Regions from separate parts of the Homo sapiens genome. Here region 2 is linked to region 1. Evidence: promoter capture Hi-C in 16 types of primary human blood cells and fetal thymus (Javierre and others, 2016). All regions are on one chromosome and are shown on one strand. Each heading gives the region's core, a stretch centred on a gene start or on the middle of the fragment in contact. The rest is flanking DNA. Distances are from core to core; before and after follow the strand shown.

Region 1 (3,708 bases), core at 903-3,402:
GCCTTGGCCCCAGAGGCTGGGGTGACCTGTGCCATGGCCAAGGAGGGGGACACTCCAGCAATGGTTTACACGTGGAGCCAGGGTCCCAAGTGGTGCTCAGTCCTTCCCAGTGAATCCCCAGCCCTTCTCCAGTTTCTCACTTCTCTCCCCAAGGCCTTTCCCCAGTCACCTCTCCCTTGGGAGCGCTGCGTTTCCTTCTGGCCTTTCAGTGGAGGGGACTTTTCATACTTCCTCCTCCCACCATAAGCCTGAGTGGCAGGGGAAGAGGTTCTGGGGACTTTCTGAGGCCAACATGGCTAGGAGAGAGAGGAGTCCTATAGCAAGGAATCCTTATCTCACGAGGGCACTGACCTTCCAGCGTGTTCTGGGGAGTATCAGCTGCTATTCCCAGGAGAGGCACAAAGTCCCAGGTAGAAGGGAGGAGCTGTCCCCAGCAGCCTGGGGTCTCTAGCCCCGGTCCACCATCACAGCACCCTTGGAGTGAGTGTCAGGGAGTGTGGGATATTTGCCCAAGTCCAGCCACCACCCCTGTCCGAGTAGAGCCCACACAGTATTGGAAAGAGAAATATAGCCACTGCTTTCACTCCTGGGAGTAGGGGTGCCCTGGTTGCTTTCACCAGCCTGCAAGAGTATAGTCAGGGTGAGGTGCTGGAGAACATCAACAACGATCTGGGTTCAAATCCCAGCTTTGCCACTTATTAGCCATGTTGCTGTGTCAACTTCTCTGAGCTTCAGTTTATTCCACTGTTGTGTAAAGATAATGCCTCTTAGGGCTGTTGTGAGCATTAGCACAGTGCCTGGCATATAGTAAATACTCAATATATGGTAGCCATATTATTATAATTGTAATTGTTACTACCACCACTGTCGTCTATTTATTTATTTATTTATTTATTTTTTTGAGACTGAGTCTTGCTCTGTTGCCCAGGCTGGAGTGCAGTGGCACCATCTTGGCTCACTGCAACCTCCGCCTCCCAGGTTCAAGCAATTCTCATGCCTCAGCCTCCTGAGTAGCTGGGATTACAGGTGTGTGCCAAAACATCTGGCTAATTTTTTTTTTTTTTTTTTTTTTGGTAGAGACGGGGTTTCGCCATGTTGGCCAGGCTGGTCTTGAACTCCTGGCCTCAAGTGATCTGCCTGCTTCGGCCTCTGAAAGTGTTGGGATTACAGGCATGAACCACCACGCCTGGCCTGTCATCCCTTCAAATGTTCTTTCAGAACTGAGGCATGCAGAGGCTGGAAGACAGGCTGGGCTCACCGGGGTGGTTATCTCTGAGAGAGGACATGGGTGAGGTCAGAGGCCTCTCCCTGGAGAAGGAGGTAGGTGGAGAAGCCAGATGGCATCCAGATAAGGAAGACCAGCATCTCCTTGAGAGTGTACACGGGAGCACGAGATGGGGAGGGAGGCTGAGTGCTCCTTACAGGCCCACCCTGTTGCCTCCAGGTGTTAGCTGCTGTTGTCCTGGGTCTTCAGTGTTGACCGTCGCATGGCATTTGGGCAGCTGGTTCTGCTGGGTTATGGTCCTCATGTCCCTGGCACAGACACAGCCATTGCCTGCTGGCACTTGATACCTACTCATATTCCATTTCTCTATTCCAAACACACTGGATTGCATGGCCCAGGGCGCCACGGTGTGCACCATTGTCTGGCCCACACTCACCTAGAATACATACCAGGATCTCCTACCCACTCCTTAGGTACAAGAAGAAGAAGGGGTTCTGGCCGGGCATGGTGGCTCACACCTGTAATCCCAGCACTTTGAGAGGCCGAGGTGGGTGGGTCACAAGGTCAGGAGATTGAGACCATCCTGGCTAACACGGTGAAACCCCGTCTCTACTAAAAAACACACACAAAAAAATTAGCTGGGCGTGGTGGCAGGCACCTGTAGTCCCAGCTACTCGGGAGGCTGAGGCAGGAGAATGGCGTGAACTTGGGAGGCGGAGCTTGCAGTGAGCCGAGATTGCGCCATTGCACTCCAGCCTCGGCGATAGAGCAAGACTCCGTCTCAAAAAAAAAAAAAAAAGGGGGGTTCTGGCCTTAATCTGCCTCCAGCTCAGTTATAAGGTGGCTTATCTAAAGGCTTGGGAGGTGGGGCACCCAGCCCTACCCACCCGTCCAGGAAGTTCCACACCTGGACAACTTTCAGTTTCATTATTTTAGCTTCCTGAGATTCAGAGGCCAGGAACTGTGCAGAGATCTGTGGGGATTCTCACAACTTCCATTTCTGGTGAACAGCTGAGGTCAGAGAGGAGGTGGGTACCACTTGAGATGGGCCTGTGGTTCCCGGGTACTGTCTTTCCAGACACCTAGAATTCCCAGGTTGGTAGTGAACTGAGAGTCAACCACCATGATGGGGCCAGAGACAGAGGAGGAAGCAGTGAGTGGATAAGTGCCTGTGCTGGGCAGAAGGGATATAGGGGAAGGTGGCCAAAGGTAGGATGGGGAAGTGGATCCCAGGAAGCTTTTGTTTCTTCTGAGGCCAATTTACCACCACCTCATTGGGAAATTGTTGGTAGGGAGGCACCCATCCAATTGCCTTGCAGAATACAGCAAGGCAGGGAGCCCAAGAATCAGAGCCAAGGGAAGAAACGACCAGTTGAGGTTAGTAATGTGAAGTCTGGCAACCGTGCCCGTCATTCCTCCCTGGTTCCTCTGTTCATCAACGTTGGGGCTAGTCTGGCTGGGGCATGGTGGGCCTGCCTTTCCATCCCTTGGGCCCCTTGGAACAAGGGGGCAACTCTGCTGTGGGAGATGTAGAAAATGGGTCTCACTTTCTCTATTTGGGGCAATAGCTGCTACTTTTTTCCTCCAGATGGGTACCATGAGGGGCAGAGGAGAATCTGGGATCTGTGATGTTTAGCCCTCTTTACTGAGTCATGGCTGCCTCACGTTCTAGAAGTAAGGCAGGCAAATCATTCCAGGTACTGATTGTCCTGGAACCTTTGGCTCTTCCTTGACCTCATGTCACGTGCGTCCATGTGAAGAGAGTCCACGAAACGGGCTTTATATGAGCAACAAGGCTGGGTGCAGGCAAGCTGAGTCCAAAAAAGGGGTCAGCAAAGGGTGGTGGCATTATCATTAGTTCTTATATGTTTGGGATAGGCTTACAAAGTACATTCTCAAGGGTGGAGAAATATTACAAAGTACCTTCTTAAGGGCAGGGGAGAATATTACAAAGTACCTTCTTAAGGGCGGCGGCGGGGAGACTATATTGTATCAGGGTGGGGCAGGAACAAATCACAATGGTGGAATGTCATCAGTTAAGGCTATTTTCATTTCTTTTGTGGATCTTCAGTTGCTTCAGGCCATCTGGATGTATACATGCAGGTCACAGGGAATATGATGGCTTAGCTTGGGTTCAGAGGCCTGACACCTCAGGCTGCCAAATGTGGAAGATTTAAATACTTGAACCAATACCCTCCTCCCAAAAACTGAAATTGGCTTCTGTTTCTGAGTTGGTCCAGGCGCAATGTTCAGCGTATTTGAGGAAATCACAAGAATTGTAGTTAAGGAGATGGATGCTGGAGGGGATATGATTGCCGTTAGAAGCCTTGTTGATGCTGATAGATTCCGCTGCTTCCATCTGGTGGGGGAGAAGAGAACTTTCTTTGGATGCCGGCACTACACAACAGGCCTCACCCTGATGGACATTCTGGACACAGATGGGGACAAGTGGTTAGATGAACTGGATTCTGGGCTCCAAGGTC
Region 2 (3,577 bases), core at 215-2,714, 380 kb after region 1:
TCCTCCAACTTCATTTCCTAATACTCCTTTCCTGTACCATTCTGGTCAGCCAATTCACAGCCTCTGCACAAAACATACATGAGCCCTCTTCCATGAGATTCCTCCCACTGCTCACCTTCCTCTTCTGTTCTATGTCCCCTATCTTCTTTATTTTCAAATAATTGTTTCTGAATAAGTCCACTTTCTCCGATTATTTCTTTCCTTTGGTTTCCTCTTATTATAATAGTTTTATATTACAACCTGCATTGATATGTTGACTTACAGATTCCCCACTCTCCACCAGCTGTAAGACTGACCTCTCTCACAAGACCCAGAAGCTTCCTGAAGGTGGGACCCTCCCCCAGTCTTCTTCCTCAGAGGTTGTCCTGTCTGTACACAGGACATGCCTCTGCTAATGATATTAATGCTCCCCACTGAAGCAGCCCTCATGGTATAACTATTGGGATATTATATCAAACAACCATGAGGAACACAATCTTATTCTGTCAATTTTCAAATTGCCACCTGCCTTGAACTTGGCACTGAATCTCCCCAAGATTACAAATTCAGTTTCATGACTTCAAAGTGTTACAAAACAAAACAAAAAAACAAGTACAGTCACCAAAGGAATTTATCTCCTTCATTCATGGTAGATAAATACTATTCTCTTTGAAGACATTTTAGGATGAGAAGCTCCATTTTGTTTCCTATTTGTACAATTAATCCCACATTCTCAGGTCATGACTTGATTTTCCAAAATGAAAATCAATTCCAGAGCCAAGAGTAATCTTGGTCCCTATCAGTCCTAACTCTTATCAACATGTTTTGGAAGGTCTCTAGGAATGGAGAAGTTATTTATGAGTCGCTTTCAACAGTTTGGCAAATACTTCCTTAGATTAACCTCACTCTCAAATGCTGACTCTTTACTTCCTCTAGTTTAGCCCTGTGTGGTTAGAGAGAAAAACGTGGTCTACCACTCCCTTTTATCTCCTACATATTGCTCAGGATACTAGCCTTATGTATGTATGTATGTATGTATGTATGTATGTATGTATGTATGTATGTATTTATTTGAGATGGAGTCTCATTCTGTCGCCTAGGCTGGAGTGAAGTGGCGCAATCTTCACTCACTGCAACCTCCACCTCCTGGGTTCAAGCAAATTCTCCTGCCTCAGCCTCCCGGGAAGCTGGGACTACAGGCTTGTGCCACCACGCCTGGCTAATTTTTTGTATTTTTAGTAGAGATGGGGTTTCACCGTGTAAGCCAGAATGGTCTCGATCTCCTGACCTCGTGATCCACCCACCTTGGCCTCCCAAAGTGCTGGGATTACAGGCGTGAGCCACCGCTCCCAGGTAGCCGGGGTTTGCCATTTATTCATTCTATCCCTTAGCCTCAAGGTGCTAATCAATCAAGATAAAAACAAAGCACTTAGGCAGCGCCTGACACATAGCAGGTACCCAACAATGTTAGTTCCCTTTCTCTCCCTTCTTTCTCGCAACACCATACATGTTCCTCGGCCTTTCTGGGCATTTTTTACTGGTTAAAGATGGTACTGAACCAAACAAACTAATCTTCTTTTGTAGCTCTAACATTCTGTGACTCTAATTCGCATATTCTCGTTTGTTCTTCTATGCACTGCCATCATTTGGATCTAAAATGAGTGGCAGAGGAATACTACTAGTCTCTAGGTTGACTTAGCATACCTAAAACCACTTGCAGGAGTTTTGAAATTCAAACAATACAAATAACTGTTTAATGTGATGCATCCATGTCATTCCTCCTTATTCTTGAATTACTCTCTTGAACTATGTAGATAACAGTGTTAAGTAAATGTCCTTACATATTGCTTAACATATTTGCCCATCTTTTCTAGTTTCCCTACAGAAAATGTCTTCATAGTATCCTAGGGGTTCTTGGCCCATCCTCCAACCCTAAAGGTAAGACTACTGTAATTAAGGGGAATTCTTTACTCAGTATTGGTGCTTTAATGGGGTCTTCCTGAAATGAACTGTGAATCTCTAAGAAAATTATCCTATAAATTTCACTAACTCAACCATAATTTTTCCTTCCATCCTGTATCCCTCTCTTCTTTATAAGCAATTATATCCAAGCTGGGCGCGGTGGCTCACTTTGGGAGGCCGAGCACTTTGGGAGGCCGAGGCGGGTGGATCACAAGGTCAGGAGTTCAAGACCAGCCTGGCCAGCATGGTGAAACCCTGTCACTACTAAAAATACAAAAAATTAGCTGGGCATGGTGGCACGCACCTGTAATCCCAGCTACTTGGGAGGCTGAGACAGGAGAATTGCTGGAACCTGGGAGGTGGAGGCTGCAGTGAGCCGAGATCACACCACTGCACTCCAAGAAGAGCAAGTCCATCTCAAAAATAAATAAATAAATAAATAAATAAATAAATAAATAAATAAAAATAAGGAATTATACCCCAAGTCTCTTTCTGCAGCCCAGCTACCAGACTCTTCTAGTTCTCCCTTCTTACCCTTATTTCCACCTCTTATATTGCTTCATTTTCTGAGACTTTTGGTCCCCTAACAGAAATTATAAATATTAACACTAGTATAAGGCCAAACTAAAAAGTTCCAGACTTTAAAAAAGGGACCAGGCTACTAAGCTTTCTTTAGGTCTTTGAATTCAGCCTGTTTTCTCCAGGTCCAAATGCATTCAAAATTGCATTAGCCTTGGTGAGGAGGGTCATCTACAAGCTGATCCTCACCAAGGGTGTCCCTCATTAGGCACTATTGTAGTTCTGAGACTGAGGAGGGAGAAGGATCCCCTCCTAGAGAGTCCATCAGATAGGCCCCTTAGGTAGAGAAAAGACATCCTCCAAGACTCAGACTTTGTTCTTTACTTAGCTCTGACTGCTATATGGTGGACTTCTTAAAGGTTTCTTCATGCTGCCTCCCTCAGGGTTGGTTTGGCCTGGATAAAATGCCCTTCATTCCTTTAGAGCTGTCAATACTATCTGTAGTTTACAAACATGCCAGAGCAAGATATCAAAAAGTCCATCCATTTACAGGTCCTAGAGAACCTGGGTCTAAGTAAATTTATTTCATGGCTATACCTTCTTATTCCACAGAAGTATGCTGTAGCTGAAGGTTGCAAATTGAGAATGGTCCACTAACAAACTACCCACTTAGAGGGTATGAAAGACAAACTCAGTATCAGTCTCTTTCTCTCAGCCTTGGAGTACTAATTTTTTGAGATAAGAGATATGAGAGAAATCCAGTGGTCAAAGTGTTTTGGCACCCCAGTGATTAATCACCAGGACATTAAAGCAACTCTTATCTGCTTTCTCTTAGATACCAGAGAGCCCTCTTCTCACCAAGCTTTACTTCCCACAGACACCATCTGCAACTGAGCTTAGAAATGTCATCAGCAAAAGCAACAATCTCAGGATATGGAAGAAGAGGATAAAAAGGTGAAGGTTGAAAGAGGGGAAGCAGGAAGACAGAAAGATGACTCCCTGCCTTTCCTGGCCAGGGTACAAAATAATCTTTTGTACCCTACATAACACAAATGAAAAGCTCCTTTCATAGCTCCTAGCAATAAGAAAGTATGGTTAGTTTACTTTCTCCTTCACT

What was found. Contacts are between HindIII fragments. The CHiCAGO score rates a contact against its expected background, and 5 or more counts as called.
Region 2: a contact is called between a fragment that was not itself captured here and the fragment with the promoter of GSDMB in region 1, in 1 of 17 cell types (activated CD4 T cells). The highest score is 6.2, in activated CD4 T cells.

What each region holds. Positions count from the first base shown.
Region 1 is chr17:39,917,079-39,920,786 of GRCh38, reverse strand. GSDMB (gasdermin B) reads left to right here and starts at 2,152. Exons shown (of 11, transcript NM_001165958.2): 1 at 2,152-2,253; 2 at 3,457-3,705. The coding sequence starts at 3,471. RefSeq lists a cis regulatory region at 1,886-1,899 and promoters at 1,878-2,240, 2,964-3,372, 2,923-3,552. The HindIII fragment of the contact is 7,383 bases long and covers 1-2,464 here.
Region 2 is chr17:39,536,374-39,539,950 of GRCh38, reverse strand. It overlaps a transcript of CDK12 not described here. Among named protein-coding and RNA genes, the nearest start is that of NEUROD2, 70 kb to the left of the region's middle. The HindIII fragment of the contact is 2,290 bases long and covers 320-2,609 here.